Regions from separate parts of the Homo sapiens genome. Here region 2 is linked to region 1. The links are contacts of gene promoters, found by promoter capture Hi-C in blood cells and fetal thymus (Javierre and others, 2016). All regions are on one chromosome and are shown on one strand. Each heading gives the region's core, a stretch centred on a gene start or on the middle of the fragment in contact. The rest is flanking DNA. Distances are from core to core; before and after follow the strand shown.

What was found. Contacts are between HindIII fragments. The CHiCAGO score rates a contact against its expected background, and 5 or more counts as called.
Region 2: a contact is called between a fragment that was not itself captured here and the fragment with the promoter of AQP11 in region 1, in 2 of 17 cell types (erythroblasts and endothelial precursors). The highest score is 5.7, in erythroblasts.

Annotation. Positions count from the first base shown.
Region 1 is chr11:77,585,545-77,593,403 of GRCh38, reverse strand. It overlaps AQP11 (aquaporin 11), which reads right to left and starts at 3,451. Exons shown (of 3, transcript NM_173039.3): 1 at 2,793-3,451. The coding sequence starts at 3,411. RefSeq lists a silencer at 3,475-4,104. The HindIII fragment of the contact is 3,851 bases long and covers 2,844-6,694 here.
Region 2 is chr11:77,057,319-77,065,177 of GRCh38, reverse strand. It overlaps LOC105369400 (a long non-coding RNA gene), which reads left to right and starts at 1,455. Exons shown (of 3, transcript XR_950341.1): 1 at 1,455-1,991; 2 at 5,648-5,811; 3 at 6,648-6,777. The HindIII fragment of the contact is 2,438 bases long and covers 4,046-6,483 here.

The sequences.
Region 1 (7,859 bases), core at 2,202-4,701:
TCGGCCTCCCAAAGTGCTGGGATTACAGGCGTGAGCCACCGCGCCCGGCCGATGGGTTGTTGTAAGAATTAATTAAGATAACTCTCATAAATTTCCTTGCAAAATGCTTGGCCTATAACAGCTGACAACTGAATATTCTTATCTCCCTTATATTGGCAGAAAACAAACAAAGGGAAGATCATACTGCATTATAAATTTCTGTAACTAATAGTAATCAACAATTGTCTATTTTGTTCTACCCATGCAAACAGACTCTAGCACTGTCCAATCCTGTACCCACTAGCTACAGCACAATTTGACAACTGACCACTTGAAATGTGGCTACTCTGAATCTAATTTCAGTTAATTTAAGTGTAAACAGCCACATGCAGCTAGTGGCTACTGAATTGCACAGTGCAGGTCTAGACTCCTAAAGCAGTGCTTCTTTACCTTGGTTTCATAATGGGATCACCTGTGAAGCTTTACAATACACCGCTGCCTAGGCCCCTTGCCAGAGCAATTGGATTTTAATCTGTGGGCCCAGAACAAGGACGTTTAAAGAGCTCCCCAGGTGATTTTAATACAGAGAGAAACACTGCTCTAGTGTTCCCTTTATACTCTCCCTCTCCCCCATCAATTAGTACCCTCATTTCAAGAAAAAAAGGGCAGTGTTTTTGATCTGTTGATATTTTATAGATACTTCTAATAACTTTCCTTATATCTATGACTGGATCTATAACTCCAAGTATTATCTGTGTCTCTTCTCTCAAATTTTTTGTCACTGATAAAATAGGGAATGGCTAATATATACAGTATTATCTATGGAATCATAAATATGTATTAAAAGTAGACAGAAAGAATATCAACTTCAGGTTAATCAAGAGAGGGAAGAGGAACATAGGTATTGAAAAATCCAACTGTAGTTAATGTTCTATTGATGTAAAAATTCTTTTTTAAGTTTTTACTGCTTTTAATTGTAGAAATAAAGAGCTAAACCATAGCATAACTCTTTTTGCAGTGACAATTCTGTTCATATACAGGGGATGTTTCTGCTTTAGCTAAAATCTAAAACTTCAATAAATAAGCAACTACCCACCAATCCCTCAAATATGCCTGTACTTGTCACTCTTTTTCTCTTTTTCTTTTTTTTTTTCTTTTGAGACAGACAGGGTCTCTATAACCCAGGCTGGAGTGCAGTGGCACTATCACAGCTCACCACAATCTCAACCTCCTGGACTTGGGTGATCCTCCCACCTTAGCCTCCCAAGTAGTTGGGACTACAAGTGCGCACCAGCACGCCCGGCTAATTTTTGTATTTTTTGGAGAGATGGGATTTCTCTTATGTTGCCCAGGCTAGTCTCGAACGCCTGGGCTCAAGCGATCCACCTGCCTTGGCCTCCCAAAGTGTTGGGATGACAGGTGTGAGCCACCGTGCCCGGCCCCCTTCACTCTTCTATACCACTTATTTCCATTTATGTCTACTTAAAAAGTGGTACTAGACCTAAAGAAGGGGAAATTGATTGGGAAGGCTTGCTTTCTTTCTTTTTTTTGAGACAGAGTCTCACTGTTGTCGCCTGGGCTGGAGTAAAATGGCGCGATCTCAGCTCACTGCAACCTCCGCCTCCCGGGTTCCAGCAATTCTCCCGCCTCAGATTCCCGAGTAGCTGAGATTACAGGCGCCCACCACCATGCCTGGCTAAATTTTTTTTGTATTTTTAGTAGAGACGGGGTTTCACCATGTTGGCGAGGCTGGTCTCAAACTCCTGACCTCAGGTGATCCACCCACCTCGGTCTCCCAAAGTGCTGGGATTACAGGCGTGAGCCACCGCGCCCGGCTGAAGGCTTTCATTTTTACCCTAGAAGGTCAAGTACGTGTTTAGGAGTCCTTATCTTGAAGTTTGCTTCTAGTCATTGTTTCACTTTTAATGGGCAGAAGATTATTACCACAAATTTCCTTTGTTGTTATTTCTGCCTCCACAGTCTTTTATAATTTAGATGTAGTCCCAATAAAGATATTCTGTTGTAATCATTTAAAATGACACATTTCATCATTAAATACTTGTGTTTTGGATTTCCTCCTCCCACTTAGGACTAGATTGCCCACTGCATCTGAGATCTGTCAAAGTAAACAAATGGTTTAAAAGAAATCAACAGATTTCTCAAGAGTTATATTTTAAAAAGCATCTTTAATTTGAAGCAAGTTATCATTTAAACATTTTTCTTAATAGGTCACTTAAAAGTTCATGTATAACTCAAAATGAATTATTAAGGAAATAAGAAATTTCATAACTCAAAATGAATTATTAAGGAAATAAGAAATGACTTTAAATCATTTATAGGACTAAAATGGAACTACAAAATTTCTACCCTCCGCTCTTATACTAACCAATCATGTGCCTTGTGCTTTAAATCGAAAGGAACTTTGTAAAGCCAGGATCATTTTTCAGTAAGAGTATCCGAAACGATCTATACCACCTTGGCATGAAGAAAGAGGCAGTTAATAAGTTATCTTTCCTTTCTACCATTAAAACAATCCCTTTGTAGGATATCTGAACCCTTGGCAATATCTCACAGTATCTCAGTTTCAGCACAGAGGTGGCTCCTTTCTCTGGGTGTTCAAAGCAGCACTGCATGAAGGCTCTACGTGTCGGCCCTACTGGTTAAGAACGGGCTGCAAAATGGTTAGAATAACGGGGATACCAGCATTTACATCATAGCGGGATAGACGGTTTCAAATGTATTTTAGTAAAGAACTTACAGCCTCATGTCATAGAGGCTCTGGAAGTGCCAAGTATTTGGTGAGAATGACAAACCTGCATAGACCAAAAAGGTGATGAGTGCAGCCAGCAGGTGGATACGAAGCTTGGTTCGGACTTCCTGGAAGTGCAGCAGAGCGCTGTGGAAGAGAAAGGAGCAGACGGCCTCTGTGATGACCGCTTTGAGCAAGTCGACTCGGATGGGATTCTTGCAAGCGAAGCTCCTCTCGCTGACGTGATACTGGGTCAGACCCAAGCTCCACAAGGCGCTTGTGCAGTACCTGCTGCACAGGGCACTAACCAGCTGAGCCAATAGCCTCACCGCACCCGTCTCGGGGGACATGCCCCCCAGCATCATCTGCATCATCACGCCGCACGGGTTGCTGGACGTGCCCACCAGAGTCAGGCCATGCACAAGCGAGAAGAAGTAGACGAGCGTCAGCGTCCAGGTGGGGTGCGCGGGGTGCTGTTCGCTCAGCAGTTGCAGCTCGTGGGTGCAGCAGCAGAGCTGGAAGGTGGCTAGAAACTCCAGGACGAAGGCGTGGGCCACCGGCCTGTGCAGCTGCTGCCGGGCGACTACGCGGGCCAGCCCCATGAGCAGCACCACCGACAGCATCAGTCCCAGCGAGGTGCAGGTGTCCTGCAGCTCGGACCGGAGCCCCAGCAGCGGCGACATGGCTCCGTCGCCGCCTGAGCGGGTTGCGGGCTCCGGCTCTGGGTAGGAGGCGGTCTCCAGGCCCGAGTCCGAAGTCCGCAGCCCCTCCCCTCCTCACGCCCCTCGGGGCGGGACGAGCGGGAGGCTCCCGAGCGGCACACTTAAGAAGTCCTCCCCGCCTCCCCGGCTTGGCGCTGGGGTGTTGGAACCAGAGCCGAGGAGGCGGGGAGGCGGGGAGGCGGGGAGGCGCGGGGAGGCGCGGGGAGGCGAAGGGAGGTAGCCTAGGGCGCCGGCCGCAGGGCCAACGGTCAGCCGAGCCCACCGCGCACTCACCCTCCGCAGTCTCCCTCAGGGCCTTGTAGGCGGGCGCGGCGGCGGAGGGCCGGCGCGGCGCGGTCGACGCAGCGCTCTTGGTGCCCACTGCGCACGCGTGCTGCGGCCCTTGCGCCCCTGCGGGCGGTGACACCCGGACCACGGGGCGGAGAGGAGCGGCACGGCGCGGCGGAGCTCTGATGGTTGCTTTGCAGCGAGGACCTTAGAGTTTTTCTTTCCCCGCTCCACACTGTAAAACCGTGGAGCTGGAAAGACCGCTGAAGGCCATCTCACATAGCCACCTCGTTTTTATCAATGGGCGACTGAAATTGAGAGGGGAGACGCGGCGCAGGGGGCGGGTGAGTTAGTGGGCGTAGACCGGTGCGCAGGGCCTCCTGGAGCCTTGCTTTTCTTCACCTGCCAAAAAACATTTCTAAAAATGGTGGTAATATATGCCAGATAAAATTCGCCACTTTAATCAATTTAAGTGTATATTTCAGTGGCATCGATTACCCTCACAGTGTTGTTCAACAGTCACCTCTTTTTTCCAGAACTTGAGCGGTGATTCTTCAAAGTGTAGCCTAGTTTTAGCATGTGACTGTCTATAACCTTTGGCATGAACTCTTTACGTATAATATGAAACAGTTGTGTCTTACTGTTACATGCACTCTTCGTGAAGAGGAAACAACAGGTAACTGGAGAGGTCTGTTTCCAAGAACTGGGGGTCCTGGCGCACCTCTTCCATCTGCTTTGAAAGCAGGAATACGGCTGCGTGAGGTGGAGCGCGTCCGGAGTCCCAGCACGGAGAGGCTTAGGTGGGAAGACCGCTTGACCCCAGGAGTTCCAGGCTGCAGTGAGCTGAGATCGCGCCACTGCACCCCTGCCTGGGCCACAGAGCGAGACGCTGTTTTTAGAAACAAAAACAACAACAAAAACCGGGCGCGGCTGGGCGCGGTGGCTCACGCCTATAATCCCAGCACTTTGGGAGGCCGAGGCGGGCGGATCACCGGAGGTCGGGAGTTCGAGACTAGCCTGACCAACATGAGAAACCCCCGTCTCTACTAAAAATACAAAATTAGCCGGGCATGGTGGCGCATGCCTGTCATCCCAGCTACTCGGGAGGATGATGCAGGAGAATCGCTTGAACCCGGGAGGCAGAGGTTGTGGTGAGCCTAGATCGCGCCATTGTACTCCAGCCTGGGCAACAAGAGCGAAACTCCGTCTCAAAAACAACAACAACAACAACAACAACAACAACAAACCAGTCAAACAAACAAAAAACAAAACATGAAAGCCACTTAGTACAGTTCCCAATACGTAGAAAATATTCACTAAGTGGTAGCTTACAGTGGAAACAGCAGGTTTCAGCAGCCAGAGTGCACGGCTCTTGCCACCGCATTCCAGTCCCAACAGCTTGTCCCCTGGGGTGGCCCATTGTAGGTGCAGCACTTTGGGAGTCCGAGGCAGGCGGATAACGAGGTCAGGAGTTCAAGACCAGCCTGGCCAACATAGTGAAACCCCGTCTCTACTAGAAATACAAAAATTAGCTGGGCATGGTGGTGCGCACATGTAGTCCCAGCTACTCGGGAGGCTGAGGCAAGAGAATCCCTTGAACCCGGGAGGTGGAGGTTGCAGTGAGCCAAGACAGTGCCACTGCACTCCAGTTTGAGCAACAGAGTGAGACTTCGTCTAAAAAAAAAAAAAATTCTTTCACAAGACACAAACTAGTAGAAAATCAAGACCTTTTCTCTTTCCTGTGTTGATTGCCTGGCCAGAAAGAATTTAAATTAGAATTATTTATTATTATTATTTTTTTAAGACAGAGTCTCGCTCTGTCTCCCAGACTGGAGTGTAATGGCGTGATCTCAGCTCACTGCAACTTCTGCTCCCGGGTTCACGCCATTCTCCTGCCTCAGCCTCCCGAGTAGCTGGGACTACAGGCGCCTGCCACCACACCTGGCTTTTTTTTTTTTTTTTTTTTTTTTTTTTTTTTTTTTTTTGTATTTTTTAGCAGAGATGGCGTTTCACTGTGTTAGCCAGGATGATCTTGATCTCCTGACCTTGTGATCTGCCCGCCTCGGCCTCCCAAAGTGCTGGGATTACAGGCGTGAGCCACCGCGCCCGGCAATTAGAATTACTTTTAAGTCACTGCTGTTTAAAGAAGTTGCCTTTAAATCAATCCTATGAATGTAACCCTTTCAGTGCTCCCCTAGACTTGAAGTCACTTGAGGATTAATGTGAATGTATTTTATTTACTGCTCTGCTGATAATTCACTTTTACCCGGAAGAGTCATGTAGAAAACCAGTGTTTTGGACTTTGGTAAGAAATTTTAGTATCGTGGTAATACATATTGTCATTAAAAGGACTTTGGACATTTTTTAAATTAAAGAACAAGGGCAAAATTAACATAATTAATTACTACTGATTGGATATTTTGCATCAAATCAACCTTCCTATTTTCAGAAACAAGAAATCACCAATTAAAGTCTCTTGAGAGTGACATCATGGACGAAGACCTCTGTTAGCTTTGGTAAAACAGCAGTAAAAACAGTCCTTGCTCTTGAATAGCATAGAAGAGGGAACAGAAGAGAAAACAAAATTAAAATATAGTGTAAAAGTACAATGGTAAAAGAAGAAAGGCCTGGGCACAGGGAGGGGCCCCCACTCAGACTTAAGGAAAGGCTCCTTGGAGGAAGTGTCATCCTAGCTGAAACCTGAAGAATAAATAGGAGTTAAGGGGTAAAGAGAAGAGGGAGAAAGAAGAGAGGCAGAGGCACTGCATTTTGCAAACAGAGAAAGCCTAGAGGAGTCCCCGTGCTCTAGGCTGGAGTATGAAGGGGGAAGTAGCAAGAGATCAAGGTTAAAAGAAATAATGCCTGAAAAAGATTTAGTACATGGCCCAGCACATAGTAGTGCTTAATAAGGTTTAATATATAAAAATGGAGGTAAAATAGACGATAGTTCAATAATCATGGATTTTGCCCTGAAGCTTCAGACAAGACAAAGCGAAATGAAGAAAAAAAAAAACCCCTGCCAAAATTCAGAATTGCATTTCGTTAACATCTGCGAGGAGATAAAGCATTTAAGAGCTTCTGCACCAGGCGCGGTGGCTCACGCCTGTAATCCCAGCACTTTGGGAGGCCGAGGTGGGTGGATCACCTGAGGTCAGGAGTTTGAGACCAGCCTGGCCAACATGGTGAAACCCTGTCTCTACTAAAAATACAAAAATTAGCCAGGCGTGTTGGCACATGCCTGTAGTCCCAGCTACTCAGGAGGCTGAGGCAAGAGAATAGCTTGAACCCGGGAGGTGGAGGTTGCAGCGAGCCAAGATTATACCACTAAACTCCAGCCTGGGCAACATGGTGAGACTCCATCTCAAAAAAAAAAAAAAAGAGCTTCTGAAGCCATGTCCTTTGGCTTGACGTTTACGTGGGAAGAAACATGGGAAGAATTTAAGTAATTGCATTTTAAAAGTATTTTATTTTGAAATAATCTCAGGCTTTCAGAAAAGTTGCAAGTATAGTACAAAATTTTTTTTTCCTGAACCATTTGAAAATTAATTGTTAATATTATGCCCAATTACTCAGAACATTTTAGGGTGTATTTTCTTAAACATCTGTGTCCTACATAGCCATAATAAGACTATCAAAATCAGGAAATTAACATTGTTACTACCATCTACTCCTCAGATCCCATTCAAGTTTTGCCAGTTGTCGCAACATTGTACTTCTTAGCAAAAGGATCCAATTCAGAATTGCACATTGCATTTAGTGTCATGTCTCATGAGTTTCCTTCAATCTAGAAAAGTTCCTCAGCTCTTCCTTGACTTTCATCACCTGGACAATTTTGAGGTTACAGATCAGTTATTTTGTAAAATCTCCTTGAATTTGGGTTTGCCTAATGTTTCCTAGATACTAGTTTCAGGTTAAGTGTCTTTTTTTTTTTCTTTTTTTGAGACAGAGTCTCACTGTGTTGCCCAGGCTGGAGTACAGGGGCGTGATCGCGGCTCAATGCAGCCTTACAGGGTATGCATCTTTAGCAGGAATATCACAGAAGTGATGCCATATTTTTCTCATTGTGTTTTATCAGATGTGTACTCCAAAAATCTGAGACATGTCTCAGTTAATTTAGAAAGTTTATTTCGCCAAGGTTGAGG
Region 2 (7,859 bases), core at 4,015-6,514, 530 kb after region 1:
CAAAGAAGACTTTCACATATGCAGCTGAGACCCGCCACCCATAGAAGAGTGTTCTAAGACTGCACCCCATCTGACTCCCCCATCTCCCCTAACCTTATTCCATGCCCTGTACTGGGAGCAGCAGCTTCACCAGCCCTTCAAAAGTCACTTCAGGGGCTCTACTCTCCCCACCTGAAACCATGCCCGTGCTGATCTGTGGCCGTCTGAAGGACTCTTCCTTCCTCCCTGTGCTGCAGCATCCCAAAGCTCCCTTGCTCAGCATCCACCCCTCACCTATGGCCCTTCTCAGGCTGCGTCTCTCAGAGTTGCTGGTGGGGCCAAGGTTTCCCCTGCAAGGCCAAAGTTCCTGGAGGGCAGAGGCCAAGGGTCATTGTCAGGAAGACAGCAGCACTTGGTAGAGCCAAGTAGATCTGGGCTCCAGTCCTCACTCTGCCAGTTACTGGCTGTGTGATCTGGGCAGGTCCTCTATCCTTTTCCCTGTCTGTAAAATGGGCTTCTAGCTGGAGTGTGTGATGACCAGGTACAGGCAAGTCACGGGGATCGATAAAGGCCCGGTTGTGTAGGATACTGGGCAGCATTGTCTCTGGGCTGGGCAACTCCCATGTGTTCCAAGGTGGGGCTGGGGTTGTGTCTGAGAAGGCATGTTTGCCTCAGCCCACAAAACAGTGGGGTTCAGAGGATGCTCAGACCCCCTTCTGTATCTCAAAGCATTGGAGCCACAAGAGGGTATTGTGCAGTAGTTGCAAGCATGGGCTCTGCCTGGGCTCATATTAGCTGAGTGACCTCAGACAAGTGACCCAACCTCACTGTGCCAGTATCCTCTCCTATAAAGCCAGCATAGCAACAGTCGCACCATGGAGTTGTTGTGGGATTAAATGGGCCGGGACATACGGAGCCCTCATGGTTGCCCTTTGCTTGGAGTAAGAGCTCAGCATGTGCTAGCTGGTGTTATTGTCATCTGGCCCAGCCCCTCATTTTGTGAAGACATTGAGTCCCAGAAGCAGAGACATGCACTCATGGCCAGTGAGAAGCCCAGCCACCCTAGCAGGTTAGCACTGGAAGGGCCCAGTCCTTTAATCATCTCCAGCAGCTCCACCTTCTCCGACAGGTGAGGAAAGAGGCCTAGCGAGAGTGACCTGCCCAGGACACCCACCCTGGTGGCCGGGTGGAGAGAGCATTGGCCCTGCTCTTGGGGGAGAGAGAGGTCCCCAAGATAGGCCAGGAAGAGCCAGATCTGCCCAACAAGGTTGGGGAAAAGGTGGGACTTTGATGATGCTCTGGCCCGGGATCCTGCTGGTCAGTTTTTGTAAACTGAGTCATCTAATGGTACCATCGCAGGGCCTGATGTGGAGGTGCACTTCCCATTTCTCACAACCGCCCTCTGCAGCAGCTCTGATTAGTCCATTTTCCAGATGACAGAACCAAGCCTCAGGGAGATGCCCCAGGTCACACAATTAGTAACTGGAATCCAAACCTACCCTGTCTGACTCCACTCTTGTGGCCTTTCCCTCCCCTCTTCCTATCTCCTCCAGGAAAAGGTCACCTCTGCAGGCTCCTTGACTGGCTGTCCCACCTCTGCTTGCATGCCACTGTAACTGGGAACTCATTTCCTCATAGCACAACCCTTTCTCCTCTACCTGGGAGAGCTTTTGTCACCCAGAGCTGATCCACCCCTCTCTTCCTGGTTCTGCCAGACTCTATACCCTCTATCTTACCAGAGCCTAGAGACAGAATCTTCTCTGCCCAGGTTAGAAAACCCCTATCTTCACTGCTCCTGTGTGTAATAGGATTTCCCAGGTGAAACTTATGATAATCATGTTTTTTTTAACCCCAACAGACCTAATTGTCTAGCTATTGTGTGGGAACCCTAAAGGAAGCCATGGCATGGGGAGTGGCTCAAAGTGGAGGCTCCTAAGGCTTGGTGTCTCTAGGAGGAATATTAAAAATCACCCTGTTAACCAGTTCATTCCATTCTCATCTGGCCAGCTCAGGTGAGTGGGGGGCAGGTCAAGATTGCAGGGTGAGAAGGCCCATCAGACACAGAACTTTCAATGGGGAATAGTTGCTAATGGTGCTCCCCTGTGTGGTCAAAAATGGGAGCTCACAAGGGACTCCAGGGCAGAACAGGTATGATGGAAATTGGGATATTGAGACAAGATGACCTCTGAGTTGTTTTCAAGTGCATCCTTCTCTGAAACACTGCTTATATTTTGTTACTATCCTGGATATTATTAAAAACCAGTCAGACCAAGGGGATTTATTCCAAGAATGCAAGGTTGATTTTTTTTTTTGAGACAGAGTTTTGCTCTTGTCACCAAGGCTGGAGTGCAGTGGCGTGATCTCAGCTCACTGCATGCAACCTTCACCTCCCGGGTTCAAGCGATTCTCCTGCCTCAACCTCCAGAGTAGCTTTAATATTAGAAAAATCCATCCATTAATAACATTGCTTTAGTTTCCTAGGGCTGCCATAATGACAAGCTGGGCGGCTTAAACCACAGAAATGTATTGTCTCAGTCCTGGAGGCTAGAAGTTCAAGATAAAGGTATCCCTAATTCTGATAAAGGTATCATCAGGGTCAATTCCTTCTATGGGATCCAATTCAATGTACAACAAGCATGTACCATATGAATGAACCTAAGGATAGAATAATATGCTCATTTATTTCCCTATAAATGCTAAGAAATGGGTATTTGATCAATACCCATTCATGATCAGAACACTCAGTGAAATAGGAATTGAGGGATACTTTCTCAATATGATAAGATATAGTCCTATAAACCAGCATCTTATTTAATCAAGAGACACTGGAAGCATTTCCACTAAGATCAAGAACATCACAAGGGCCAGGCACAGTGGTTCATGCCTGCAATCCCAACACTTTGGGAGACTGCTATGAGAGGATTGCATGAGGCCAGGAGTTTGAGGCCAGCCTAGGTGACAAAACGAGACCCCATCTCTACAAAACAAAATACAAAAAAAAAAAAAAAAAAAAAGCCAGGTTTGGTGGCATTTGCCTGTAGCTCCAGCTACTCAAAAGGCTGAGGTGGGAGGATCCCTTGGGCACAGGAGGTTGAGGCTGCAGTGAGCCCTGATTATGCCATGACCTCCAGCCTGGGTGACAGAGTCAGACCTTGACTCTAAAAAAAAAAAAAAAAAAAGAGAAAGAAAGAAAGAAGAGAAACATGGCAAGGATGCCATTATCTCCACTACTATTCCACATTGTACTAGATGTATTAGCCAATGCAATTAGACAAGATAAATCAATTGGAGGTCTAAGAATGGTAAAGAAGAAGGAGAACTATTTCTATTTACATACGGCATAATATACCTGAAGAACCCCAGAGAATCAATGATAAAACTAATTCAAATAGTAAAGGAGTTCAGTGAAGTAGCAGGATACAAAATTAACATGTAAAATATAATGGCCTTTATGTATAAACCTATATGAGGATTTTTTTTTTTTTTTTTTTTAAACAGAGTTTCACTCTGTCGCCAGGCTGGAGTGCAGTAGCGCAATCTCAGCTCACTTCCGCCTCCTGGGTTCAAGTGATTCTTGTGTCTCAGCCTCCTTAGTAGATGGAATTACAGGTGTGCATCACCACACCTGGCTAATTTTCTTATTTTTAGTAGAGATGGGGTTTCACCATGTTGGCCAGGCTGGTCTCAAACCCCTGAACTCAGGTGATCTGCCCACCTTGGCCTCCCAAAGTGCTGGGATTATAGGCGTAAGCCATCACGCCTGGCCATGATGAAATTTTTAGAACATTTTTGAAAGACACGAAAGGAAAACAAACAGAAAAATATCCCTTTGTTTGCACAGGAAAAGTCAACATTGTAATGGTGTTAGTCCTCCCTAAGTTAATGTTAAACTCCATGTAATCCCAATAAAAGAAACAGCAAGGTATTTTATGAAGATAGACATGTTGATACAAAAGTTCACATAGAAAAATAAACTTGCAAGAACAGATAAGAAGACATTGGAAAAGAAAAACCATGAGAGAAAACTAGACTTGCCAGACATTAAAAAAAAAATTAAAAAAAAGCTTCTGTAATTAAAACTGGGATGGTTCTGGTACATGAATAGATAAATTGGAATAGACTAGAAAATCTAGGATTAGACCCAAAACATCTTTACCCCACTAATTTGAGATGTTGCCTTTGCTACACACTAAACATAGACTTTGCAATAGATAATGCCGGGACAACTGGGAGCCATTTGGAAAAAGATAAAATTAAATCCATATGTTACACTGTCATATTTTGTGTTGTGTTGCTGCAAAGGAATACCTGAGACTGGGTGATTTATAAAGAAAAAAGGTTTATTTGGCCCATAATTCTGATGGTTGGAAAGTTCAAGACTGGGCATCTGGTGAGGGCCTCAGGCTGCTTCCACTCATGGTGGAAGGTGAAGGAGAGCTGATGTGAGCAGATATCACATGGCAAGAGGAGAAGCAAGAGAGAGGGGAGAGGGTGCCAGAATCTTTCAACAAGCAGCTCTCCCAGGAACTAAGAGAGTGAGAAGTCACTCACCCCCAGGGAAGGCATTAATCTATTCATGAGGGACCACCTCCATGAGCCAAACACCTCCCATCAGGCCCCACTCCAACCCTAGAAATCACATTTGAACATGAGCCTCGGAGGGGACAAACATCTAAACCATAGCACACATCCAACAAAAGAATAAACTGAATGGATTAGGGATCTAAGTGTAAAAAACAAAGCCACCTGTCTTAGTCAGCTCGGGCTGCTATAACAAAATACCACAAACCACCAAATCCAATGGTAAAGTGAGGGGAAAGGCACCAACAGGTAACTAACCAAAAAAGATATTAAAATGGCCCTCAAACTTATGAAAAAAATATTCAAGGACACTGGTAATTAGAGCGAGGCAAATCGCTCTACAGTGAGATGCCATTTTTCACTTTTCAGACTGACAATAAAAAAGATCACAACACATTCTGTTCACCAAGTTGTAGGGAAACAGTCACTCACAGCTGTTGCTGGTGGGAATACAATTTGGTACAATTTGGTACAATTCTAGGGGAATTGGTAATACCTAAGAAAATTACATACGCATGTACCCTTTAACCCGAGGCAACTCCACTTCTCGGAATCTACTCAGAACCCATACCTCTGGCAGTATGGAAATACACATGCAAAGCCTTTTTCAGTGACGCGTTCTTTTTAATTGCAAATATTGGAAACAATCTACATACCCACAAGTGGGAGAGTGGTTGAATAAATTGTAGTATATCCAAGCAATGGAGCATTAAGCAGCTGTAAAAGAAAATGAGGAGGAGCACATTGAATTGATAGTGTGAATCCCAGAACACACATGGAGAGAGAAGACAATATAAGAACATACACAGGTGTCTGCTCATCTATGCAGAGAAGTACAAGAAGGAAAGATCAGAAACTGGTGCGATTGGCTACCTACAGGGACAGGTGGAAAGGAGTGGAAAGAACTGTTGAATGGGATAGGATGGCAGGGAAGAGCAGGGAGTGACACTTCTCTGACTATATCTTTTTAATTTTTCTTATTGAGATATCATTTACATGCCATAAAATTCATCCTTTAAAGTATAAAATGCAGTAGTTTTTAGTATATTTACAAAACTGTGCAACCATCACCACTATCTAATTTCAGATTGGGAGTCCTTTCCAGTAACATCTCCACAAGGCACTGCTTGTGGAGATTTGGAAACACTACTGGTCCATTGGATAGAGGAAGCACGCTCCCCATTGGATTCTTCTTTATAATTGGATGGAGGGCTCTAATACAGAGAAACTGGATGCTCTGCTAATCTAGAGGTCGGGATTTTCACCACCCCAATAGAAACCTCATACCCAAGCATTCTCCATTTCCCCCTCCCCTTATCCCCTTATCCCCTGGCAACCTCAAATCCTATCTCAATGGATTTGGCTATTGCAGGTATTTCATATACTGAAATCATACAATATGTGGCCTTTTGAGTCTGGCTTCTTTCTTTCTTTTCTTTTCTTTTTTTTTGCGGGGGGACAGGGTCTCACTCTGTTGCTCAGGTTGGAGTGCAGTCACGTGATGACAGCTCACTGCAGCCTCAAACTCCTGGGCTCAAGCAATCCTCCTGCCTCAGCCTCCTGAATAGGTGGGACTACAGGTGTGTGCCAATGTGCCCAGCTAACTTTTTAATTTTTGTAGAGACAGAGTCATACTCTGTTGCCTAGGCTCATCTCCAGCTCCTGGTCTCAAGTGATCCTCCTGCCTTGGCCTTCCAAAGTCTAGCTTCTTTCACTTAGCATAATGTTTGCAAGGTCCATCTATGTTGTAGCATGGATCTGTACTTCATTCTTTTTTAGGGCTGGATAATATTCCATTGTATGAATATACCACATTTTGTTTATTCATTCATCTGTTGACAGACATTTGGGATTTTTCCACTCTTTGGCTACTGTGAATAATGCTTTGAATATTCATGTGCAAGGTTTTTTTTGAGACAAGCTTTCACTCTGTGGCCCAGGCTGGAGTGCAGTGGTGTGATCACGGCTCATTGCAGCCTCGACTTCTCAGGCTCAACTGATTCTCACACCTCAGCCTCCCTAATAGCTGGGACTACAGGCATGCATCCCCATGCCCGGCTAATTTTTATTTTTATTTTTTTGTGGAGATGGAGTCTCACTGTGTAACCCAGGCTGCATGTGCAAGATTTGGAGTGGACATCTGTCTTCAGCTCTCTCGGGTATATGTCTGGGAGTGGACTTCCTGGGTCATAGGGTAACTCCATGTTTAACTTTTTGAGGAACTGCCAGACTGTTTTCCCAAGTGCTAGGAGTGTCCACCTAAATCCTCCTGCCAGGCCCTGCAAGCTCCTGATGTAGCCCCGCGACCCTGGGAGTGAGAAAATCCCGCCCAAGACCCCAGCCAGTGGAGAGAACTGGAGCCAAGCCGGCACCTGGGGCTGCTGCCTGCATATTGCCAAAGAGGGGCCTGTGGGTCCCCAGGGTCCCTGGATTCTCCAGCGTCCTACAGGCCAGCAGCAGCTGGCAGGGTTCAAGAGTAAGGGTGGGCAGGAGGGGTGCCTGCGTCCTCCCTGTGCAATCTGGGGCCCAGAGGCAGCGGCACCTGCCCCCACCCTGCCCCTAGGCTGATATGTGTACATCTGCCCCCACTCCCCAGCTGATGGAGCTCTGACTGATTCTGCTCTGGGTTCCCAGTTCTAAAACTGCCTTCGCAAAAATTATAACAGTGAGAAAATTATGCCAGTAAAAGAGATCTGACCTAACTGACTCCACCTTGCTTCTAACCTCCCAGCTACCCTTGTTCATTTTGGGGTGTAAGAACTAATTTTGGGAGATAGTTATAGTTTAACTTTGAAACAAAGGTAACAATAGCCCTTTCCCAAAAGAAACTTCCTTTTGCCTGGGGACCAGACTGCCTTTGTAGGACTAATAAATTAGCCACAAGATTAGAAATTATGGTTTAGAAGTCAGCTGGGAGCGGTGGCTCCTGCCAGTAATGCCAGCACTTTGGATGGCTGAAGTAGGTGGACTGCTTGAGGGCATGAGTTTGAAACCACCCTGGCCAACATGGTGTAACCCTGTCTCTGCTAAAAATACAAAAAGCACCCAAGCGTGTTGCCACACGCCTGTAGTCCCAGCTACTCAGGAGGCTGAGGCAGGAGAATCACTTGAACCCAGGAGGTGGAGGTTGCAGTGAGCCAAGATCATGCCACTGCATTCCAGCCTGGGCAACAGAGCAAGACCCTGTCTCAAAAAAAAAAAGAAAAAGAAATTTATGGTTTAGGAGACATGTAGCCAGAGGCTACAAGATTCTACACCTCCCCAGTTACTCCTAGGGATAACATCACTATTGTAAAACC